Linked DNA regions of Homo sapiens: region 2 is linked to region 1. Evidence: promoter capture Hi-C in 16 types of primary human blood cells and fetal thymus (Javierre and others, 2016). All regions are on one chromosome and are shown on one strand. Each heading gives the region's core, a stretch centred on a gene start or on the middle of the fragment in contact. The rest is flanking DNA. Distances are from core to core; before and after follow the strand shown.

What was found. Contacts are between HindIII fragments. The CHiCAGO score rates a contact against its expected background, and 5 or more counts as called.
Region 2: a contact is called between a fragment that was not itself captured here and the fragment with the promoter of DDX25-AS1 in region 1, in 1 of 17 cell types (non-activated CD4 T cells). The highest score is 5.2, in non-activated CD4 T cells.

Annotation. Positions count from the first base shown.
Region 1 is chr11:125,936,742-125,941,412 of GRCh38, forward strand. DDX25-AS1 (DDX25 antisense RNA 1) reads right to left here and starts at 2,301. Exons shown (of 4, transcript NR_199024.1): 1 at 1,945-2,301. The HindIII fragment of the contact is 1,410 bases long and covers 2,159-3,568 here.
Region 2 is chr11:126,161,680-126,166,350 of GRCh38, forward strand. No RefSeq gene overlaps it. Among named protein-coding and RNA genes, the nearest start is that of RPUSD4, 48 kb to the right of the region's middle. The HindIII fragment of the contact is 5,651 bases long and covers 1-4,671 here.

The DNA of each region.
Region 1 (4,671 bases), core at 1,051-3,550:
GGTTTCTCCCTCATCTTCTCCAGCCCTAGGTATGATCATTCTTATTAAGTTTTGCTATTCTGATAAGTGAAAAGCAGTATCCCATCTCTAAAATTTGCATTTCCTTGACTATTAGTGAGGTTCAGCATCTTTCCATAAATGTATTATCCATTTGGATTTTCTCTTCCATGAATCACCTATTTCTATCTTTTGCCTATTTTTCTACTAGGTTATTTCTCTTTCTTATTGACAGACAGGATCTTTGTGTACCAGATATTAACTCGTTATTGGTGGTACATATTGAAATATTTTCTCCAGTCTATAGTTTGTCTTTTGACTTTACATATAGTATCTTCTATCTTTCTGTTTTCTTTTTTTTTTTTTTTTGTCTTTTGTCTTTTGAGACAAAATCTCACTCTGTTGCCCAGGCTAGAGTGCAGTGGTGCGATCATAGCTCACTGCAGCCTTGATCTCCTGGGTTCAAGCCATCCTCCTACCTCAGCCTCCCGAGTAGCTGGGACTACAGGCATGCGCCACCATACCCGGCTAATTTTTGAATTTTTTGTAGAGACGGGGTTTCGCCATGTTCCCCAGGCTGGTCTGGAACTCCTGAGCTCAAGCGATCTGCTCACCTTGGTCTCCCAAAGTGCTGGGATTACAGGTGTGAGCCACTGCACTCAGCGGTATCTTTTTTTTTTTTTTTTTTTTTTTTTTTTTTGTGAGACGAAGTCTCGCTCTGTTGGCCAGGCTGGAGTGCAGTGGCGAAATCTTGGCTCACTGCAACATCCACCTCCTGGGTTCAAGCAATTCTCCTGCCTCAGCCTCCTGAGTAGCCGTGACTACAGGCACGTGGCACCATGCCTGGCTAATTTTTGTATTTTTAGTAGAGATGGGGTTTCACTATGTTGGCCAGGCTGGTCTCAAACTCCTGACCTCATGATCCCAGCGGTATATTTTATCTTTCTAAAATTTAAGCTTCTTATGTCTCTCTTTTCATCTGTAGCTTCTGAATTTTCTACTTTATTTAGAAAAATCTCTTCAAACTCTAGATCATATATTCTAATATTTTTCCTCATGAAACTGTTTTAAATGTTATATTTAAATCTTTCGGATCTGAAATTTTGTTTTAATAACTTAATGAGGTAGAGGTCGTAACCTTTTTTTTTCATTCAGACATAGAGTCAACTGTGCCTATACAATTTATTAAAGAAACCATAGTTTGAATCCACTGGTTTGAAATACCACCTTTATTGTACCCTATAATCCATACGCACGGGGATAAATTTCTGAACTTTGTTCTATTTCTGCCCTATGGGGCTATTTATCTTGTCCTGTACTTTTAATGTACGATTTGATCCCAGTAACTTTATAGTTTTCCTTAGGCCACTTGTAATATTTCTTTGCTGCTGTTGTTTTCATCATTACCATTAAAAAATTCCTTCCAGCTATCAGAGCCTGTGAATGTCAGTAACTTCAAAACAGGCCAGAATAAAGCCAAGAAGGGGAGGGATGGGCCTGTCCCTTACCTGTCCATGTGCCTTTTCAGGAATCAGCTGAGGCAGTGGCCAGACAACAACATTAGGTGAGCACCCACTACGCATTCAGCATTGCTCTTACCACTAACGACAAAGCTGGAAGACCAGAACTTCCAGCAATGGGGTAACAAGGTTCTTATTTCTCAGCTCTGGACCTGTATCTTCTGCAGCCAGTTTTGCGATGTTGGGCTTGGACCCTACCAACTCCATTTCTGTTTTGCCAGTCACTAGAGGGAGGCTGCAGGCGGGACAGGAAGTGTGGACAGGCTCCTTCCTGTTTGCATCTGTGTGTTCCCTGTGAGGGCACCCCAGCAACACATCTTCACCCCAGGAACAGCAGGCCCCTCCTGGAGCAGCACCTGATCCAGTTTGCAGTGTTCCCAACACTTGCAGCTCCATCATCCACCCCACCCCAGCCCTGCATCCCTACCTGAGAGACCCCAGCACCAGCTGGCAGGTGCCCCTTCCGCAGAGGTCTGGGTGCAGGAGTCCTTTCTTCACACCCGGAGACCCCAGCTCCCGCTGAGTTGAGCCCCCTCCTCAGATGTCTGGGTCACAGGCTCTGGAACCCTCCTTCAAAACTCTTCCTTAGGGTTCTCCAGCCCTGGAGTGGTAGCTGCTCCTGCAGGTGCAACCCCCATGAAAGCTTACTCTTCTCTCTCCTTACCCTCTCCTTACCTAATTAACAACTTCATACCTCATTATCAGTTCCTTATGCTGAATTCTCTTTTCAAACTAACTGGTGTGGTTTCTGTCTCCTGATTGAACCCCAGCTGACACAGGTAATGAGGAATTGAAGTTTTCTGGGAAGTGAGGGCTGCCTCTCTTGGCCGCCCTGCTGAGAGCTCCCTTCCCTCCTCCATTCCCAGAATTATTTGGCTGCTGGTCGCCAAGGAGACGACTGACAATTTCCAGTTGCCAAGCCTCACCCTGGAGCTCTACAGAGACATTATGGAAACTCCCCACTCCTTCCTGCTCCTCAGCCAGGGAACTTGGAGAATCTAGCCAGGTTGGGTGGAGGGCACTGGGAGGGGATAGAGAGGAGGTGACAAGCCTGAAGATGGAGAGAGCAGCTAGAAGTTTCCCTGGGCCCTGGCTTCCCCAACAGACCTCAAAAGTCTGGCCCACCCTTGAAGGCTAGGGCTGGCCTGGTGGGCATCCCCTGTGCTGGGTCCAGACAGACTCCTACCAGGGACCTCCAACCAGACCCTCAACTACAGAGAACTGTCCCTATATTGTCATTCCCGGCCTGGTAGCAGCACTGTTGCCAGATGGGGCAGAACCCAGGAAGAACCTGGGAACTGAAGGGCTAGGAGTCTTTCCTGGGGGAAGGAACTGCAGCTGTCCTGAGCACTTTGCTCATATCAGACAGCACTCAAATGCACTGAGGCCTAGTGTCACAGCCCGGGAAACAGCAACAACAGCAACGCTAATAATAATAATCGTAGTGGTGCAGTAGGTGTGACTCTTACTCTATAAACTTAGGTGCACAAAAATATCCATTTCTCTATTTCACTAAAATCAAGTAGAGTTGAGTTCATTCCTGGGGCTCCTGCCTTTTTCCAGCGTCCCACCAGAACCCGGGGGCTTATTGCTATGGTTTAAATGTGTCCCCAAAATTCAGGTGTTGCCAGTGTGGTAGTATTAAGAGATGGGGTCTCCAAGAGGTGGTTGGGCCACGAGGGCTCCTCCCCTGTGAATGGGAGTAGCTGCCCTTATAAAAGGGCTTGACAAAGGGAGTTTATCCCTTTTTGCCCTTCTGCCTTCCACTATGTGGGGACATGGCCTTCGTCTCCTCTGGAAGATGCAGTGACAAGGCGCCATCTTGGAAGACAACAGCTCTCACCAGACACCGGACCTGCTGGAGCCCCGGTCTTGGACTTCCCAGTCTCCAGAACTGTAAGAAAATAAATTTCTGTTCTTTATAAATTACCCAGTCTCAGGTATTCTAGTATAGCCACACAAATTGACTAAGAAACTTAGGAGGGATGAAACCAAGGGAAGGCCTCTAACTGCTGGTCCATCGTGGTGGTTGTTGGCCTGCTCGTTGTCCAAGCTTTCTGTGGGCCTGTGCAGTCAGCAATAGCTCTCCAGTCCTGTACGCTCTGGGGTCCTGGCCTGCTGTCTCCAGACTCTTCTTCTCCCAGGTACCTAGTGACCTCTGAACTGTCCCCAAACTCAGGGAAATCTCTTCCTCTCTGCTCTAACTGCCCCCAAAGGCACTCTCCTTTCTCCATCTCACCCCTTCCACCACCCGGCATACCTCACACAACTTTTACAAAATTAGGAAGATGTTAATGTACAGCTTCTTCCCTGCAAGAATCCCCATGGCAATGCAGGGCTAGAGGCCTGGTGAAAGCAGCTTCTGGTCTGTTTTTGCGTAGTAGTTTAAGGTAAGCTAAAGACATCGGGACATCTCATTGCTGAGTGTTTTAGTATTCATTAAAAAACAGAAACATTGTCTTACATCATCAAAAAACTATTCTCACATATAACAAAATTAATTTTCTAACTTTTTTTTTTTTTTGAGACTGAGTCTTTCTCTGTTGCCCAGGCTGGAGTATAGTGGCGTGGTCTCGGCTCACTACAACCCCCACCATCCAGGTACAAGTGATTCTCGTGGCTCAGCCTCCTGAGTAGCTGGGACTACAGGAACACGCCACCACACCCGACTAAGTTTTGTATTTTTAGTAGAGAGAGGGTTTCACCATACTGGCCAGGCTGGTCTCAAACTCCTGACCTCAAGTGATCTGCCCGCCTCGGCCTCCCAAAGTGCTGGGATTACAGGCGAGAGCCACCGTGCCTGGCTTCTAATATTATCTAATAAACAATTAGTCCCATTTCACAGAGGAAAAACTAAGACTTGAAGTGGGTGAGTAACTTGTTCATCGTCACTCAGGTAGTGGGAACAGAACCAAGATCTGAACCCTGATGTGATTCCAGCTCTCCTCTTTCTTCACATCTCTGCACAGCAGCTTATACGCTCTTACTAATCCACCATCCCGCTCTTACAACAGCTCTGAGCAGTGTCAGGGTGAGCATTGCAATCACATTTTTAACCAATCAGGAAACAGAAGCCATGAGTGTTTTGCTCCACATGCCCAGGTAGGGCTGGTTGAGAAAGGGCTCCGGGAATGGAAAGCAGATGGAAGGAGGG
Region 2 (4,671 bases), core at 1,307-3,806, 230 kb after region 1:
CACAATGTGCAGGTTTGTTACATGTGTATACATGTGCCATGTTGGTGTGCTGCACCCATTAACTCGTCATTTACATTAGGTATATCTCCTAATGCTATCCCTCCCCCTCCCCCCACCCCATGACAGGCCCTGGTGTGTGGTGTTCCCCATCCGGTGTCCAGGTGTTCTCATTGTTCAATTCCCACCTATGAGTGAGAACATGCGGTGTTTGGTTTTTTGTCCTTGCGATAGTTTGCTGAGAATGATGGTTTCCAGCTTCATCCATGTCCCTACAAAGGACATGAACTCATCTTTTTTTATGGCTGCATAGTATTCCATGGTGTATATGTGCCACATTTTCTTAATCCAGTCTATCACTGATGGACATTTGGGTTGGTTCCAAGTCTTTGCTGTTGTGAATAGTGCCGTAATAAACATACGTGTGCATGTGTCTTTATAGCAGCATGATTTATAATCCCTTGGGTATATACCCAGTAATGGGATTGCTGGGTCAAATGGTATTTCTAGTTCTAGATCCTTGAGGAATCGCCACACTGCCTTCCATAATGGTTGAACTAGTTTACACTCCCACCAACAGTGTAAAAGTGTTCCTATTTCTCCACATCCTCTCCAGCACCTGTTGTTTCCTGACTTTTTAATGATCGCCATTCTAACTGGTGTGAGATGGTATTTTCCCCTCTTACAATCAGGATAAAGAAACTCCTTCCTGTGGTTGTAGCAAGAGTGAAATGTGTAACCTATGTGAAGCACTTGGAATGGGCCAGGCACACAGCAGACACTCAATAACAGCAGCTGTTAGATCTCAGCAAGGCGGGGCAAGGAGCATGAGAGGGCGGCTGGGGAGAAGGGAAAGGAAGGCTTGAGGCAGACACTGGCCTTGCTGCCTCCATCTGCACACTGTGAGTGACCTGCCAGGTGCAGCGGCTGTGATCACCTCCAGGAATCTCCTGGCCCTCTTCTCAATCTTCCTTTAGAAAAACAGCCAGAGGAATCAAATCTCCTCTCTCCACTGGGGTCCTTCAGCCCCGGCTGCCCACCCCCTTGATTCTGCTGTCCAGCCCCTAAGGAGAAGGTATGGATTTTGGAGGCAAACAAACCTGGGTTGAATTCCCTATTCGGCCTGGAGTGGGCTGTGTGGACTTGAGCAGGTCTTCACACCTGGCAGGAACGCGACCACCGCCGGAGAGCCATCAGGCCCTTGGGACGATCGGGGTGCCCTCCCCACAAATCCCCAGCTCTGTGTGACCCAGGACAAGTGGCCCAGCCTCACACAGGCAGATTCTGCTCAGATCAAAAGCAATCACGAGCACAGGGCCTCAGGGCGATGGGCAAGACATGGGACCCCAGGATTGCTACAGTGTTCACTCGGAGGAAGCAGGAGCCTGGCTAATTCCCCGCTCACTGGCAGACTTTTCCAGGGGCGGCACGGCCAAGAAACTTCAGGTCCCTGCCACGAGGAGTGCGGGGGAGCGCGGAGCAGCTCACAGGAATGGCATCTTATGCCTTCCAGAAAGAGTGAGATTGATGGCACTTTTCAGGCCTCAATGAATCACACTCCCATGTGACCGCCTTAGCCTCCTGGCAGCAGATGTACTCAGCAGTCACTGTCCTCAACAACAGCACGTTTCTCACACACCCAGATGCACACGCATTGGCCGAGGGTCTTCCCAGGAGGCACTCATGACCCAGCACCCGCGGCTTGAAGTGCACGTATGCAAACCGGCACAGCCCGTGCCTATGTCAGGCATAGCTGCGGCCAGCTGCAGCTCCTGAGACCCAGGCTGGGGCCCCAGGGCACAGAATGCCCAGCGGACCGCAGCTCGGACAAGTTCCCGGCCCCTCTGCCCTAACCCCTTCCCTGCAGAGAGAGTAGGCAGAGGGAGGGGCAGCCTGAGGGAGAAAACAAACTTCAGACTCATTATCCCCAGGCCCAATCTCTGCTCTCAGCACAAATAAAGGTCTCTAATCCGGAGTGAAAAGCAAACACAGCTCCCCTCTTCTCCCCCTGTCTCCTCCCATCAGGCTCGGGGCCCTGGCTCCTGTTTTCAATACAAATATTCAATTAAACTTTCCTAGAGGGTCCAGTAATTGGGTCCCAAAGGCAAAGGTTCCCATAGACAGAGTGAGACCCCGAGACAGTGAGACCCAAGAGGGGCAGACGTACCCGGCGACAGAGAGCAACAGGCAGACCGGGAGACCAGGCAGAGAATGGGAGGCCCCAGAGGGAGGGGTCTCAGATTTGCCCGGTAATCAGGAAACCCTTTCCTAGAGCTCTGTGCCCTCAAACTCTAGCTTCCTCTGAACTGCCCTGAGAGAGGAAATGAATCTTCAAGAACAGACCACAGGGCCCCAGGTGCGGTGGCTCACACCTGTAATCCCAATGCTGTGGGAGGCCGAGGTGGGCAGATCACCTGAGGTCAGGAGTTTGAGACCAGTCTGGGCAACATGGCGGAACTCTGTCTCTACAGAAAATTCAAAATGTAGCCAGGTGTGGCTACTCAGGAGGCCGAGGCAGGAGAATTGCTTGATCCTGGGGGATGGAGGTTGCAGTGAGCCAAGATCGCACCACTGCACTCTAGTCTGGGTGCCAGAGCAAGACTCCGTCTCAAAAATAAAATAAATAAATAAATAAAATAGACCAAGGGCCTGCAGCGATGTGCTTGTCCCCGTCACAGCCATCTTCTTCATCAGCAGCTCTTGTTCCATCAGCCCTGAGCCCTTCCAGGGCCAACAGCCTCTCCTAGCATTTACCACATTTAAATCAAAACACTATAGTCCAGCCCAGCACCAAATCCTTTTAAGACCTCTCCACCTTTGATCTGAATTGCTACTACTATAATCACTCCTTTTCCTGCAGTTGCTTAAATGGAATGGCCTCAAAAGCAGAAAAATTTTTCTACTCCTATGAAAAAACTGAGACCTGGAGAGGAGGAAAATCTGGCCCAAGGTCACCCTGCAAGTTAGCGCCTGAGCATGACCAGACCCCAAGGCTTCTGGTGCCCCGTAGATTATTTTTACCTGGTTACTGTCAGTCAAGCCTGGAGAGGGGATGTCTGAGTTCCAGCTCTAGCCCCATGACTGGTCAGCTGTAACACAAGGGAAAGAAACTCCATCCTCAGCAACTTCCACGGATCCATTTCCTTAATCAGAAACTTTCTCCTGCAAGCCCTGAGGACGCTTAAACACCTAAGACACCAGGATTCAATAAATTAAGAAATGGTCGGCTACAGTGGCTCACACCTGTAATCCCAGCACTTCGGGAGGCCAAGGTGGGAGGATCACTCAGAGCCAGGAGTTTGAGACCAGCCTAGGCAACACAGGGAGACCTGGCCTCTACAAACAAACAAACGAACAAAATAGCCAGATATGCCCTGTAGTCCCAGCTGCTTGGGAGGATCACTTGAGCCCAGGAGTTTGAGGCTGCAATGAGCTATGATCCATGCCACTGCACTCCAGCCTGGGTGACAGAATGAGACCCTGTCACGCCTCTTCGACCCCGCAAAAAAAAAAAAAAAAAAAAAAAGTAAGGAGACTGGATACAAGGTGACTTTTAAAACACAGGGAGGAAGTGAGGTTAGTAATTCATGCTCCCTTCTCTTCCTTTCCCTCCTTCCCTTGGTTCCATCTTAACAAGTCAAGTTACAAGCCAGGCTGGGGGGTGGAGTAGGGGACTAAAGAAGGAGCCCAGCTGGCCCTCCTAATTAAAAACCCTAAAGCTCTCTCGACAGATCTGCCTGACAGTGTGGGATTGACTCCCTTAGCCCAGCACGGGCTGCACCTGGAGGTCTCTGCTCATGACCTCTAGATGAAGGACAAGGTTGACTGGAAAAGGAAGAAGTGAGAGGAGGGGCGGGAGCCCCATCATCAGAGCAGGAGACAGACTCCTGGGCAGCTGGCTGGAGCTGGCGTGGGATCAACACCCTGGGATGGGGCCCCAGAGGGAACGGATGGGCCTGGGTGTTGGGGCCTCCGCTGAAGGGAGGTAACAGATTGATTTCAACTGGACTTTGCCTGGATTTCCTCGTCTCGTAACCCGCACTGGTTGGATGGACGGCTGTCTGGGGCCTCTTCGAAACCCAGTTTATCAAACCTTCCCCAAAATGTTAGGTCAGCATCTCAGGACCCAGTGACCCCAAATTTCAGAAAAACTTGAGGGTTACCATTCAGCCCAAACATGCTCATTCATGGTAACCCAAGCAGGCTGGAGGCCTCCGGGCAGGCAGGGCACAGGCTGCCCCCGACCAGAGCAAAAAGTCAGCGCGTGCAGTCGGCTGGGGGAGAGGGAGAGCAGTCTGGGAGATGCTCCTCATGGCAGGGAGCCCGGGAGGCAAGAGCCGAGCCAGGAGCTTCCAAGGGAGTCTGGCTTTGGGATTTACGAGTCTCTTGTTTCCATTCAGAAGGACTCTAGGCCTCAAGTGCTCTGGAGAGGATCGTTCCATGGAGCCAAGACACCAGGCGGAAGGGAAGCTGCTTCCTCACCAGGCACCATCCTGTCCTCTCTGAGGCCAGATTCGGGGCTCACTAACTCCTTTGTTGCAGGCCAGGGCTTAGAACTTCCCTTTCTATGATTTAGGGCAAAGGATGTGCAGGAGAGGGGAAGGCCATGTTTCCTTGGTCTTGAACTCAAGGAGGAGCGTCAAGTCCTTGAAAAGTATCAGTGAAGGCAGGAAG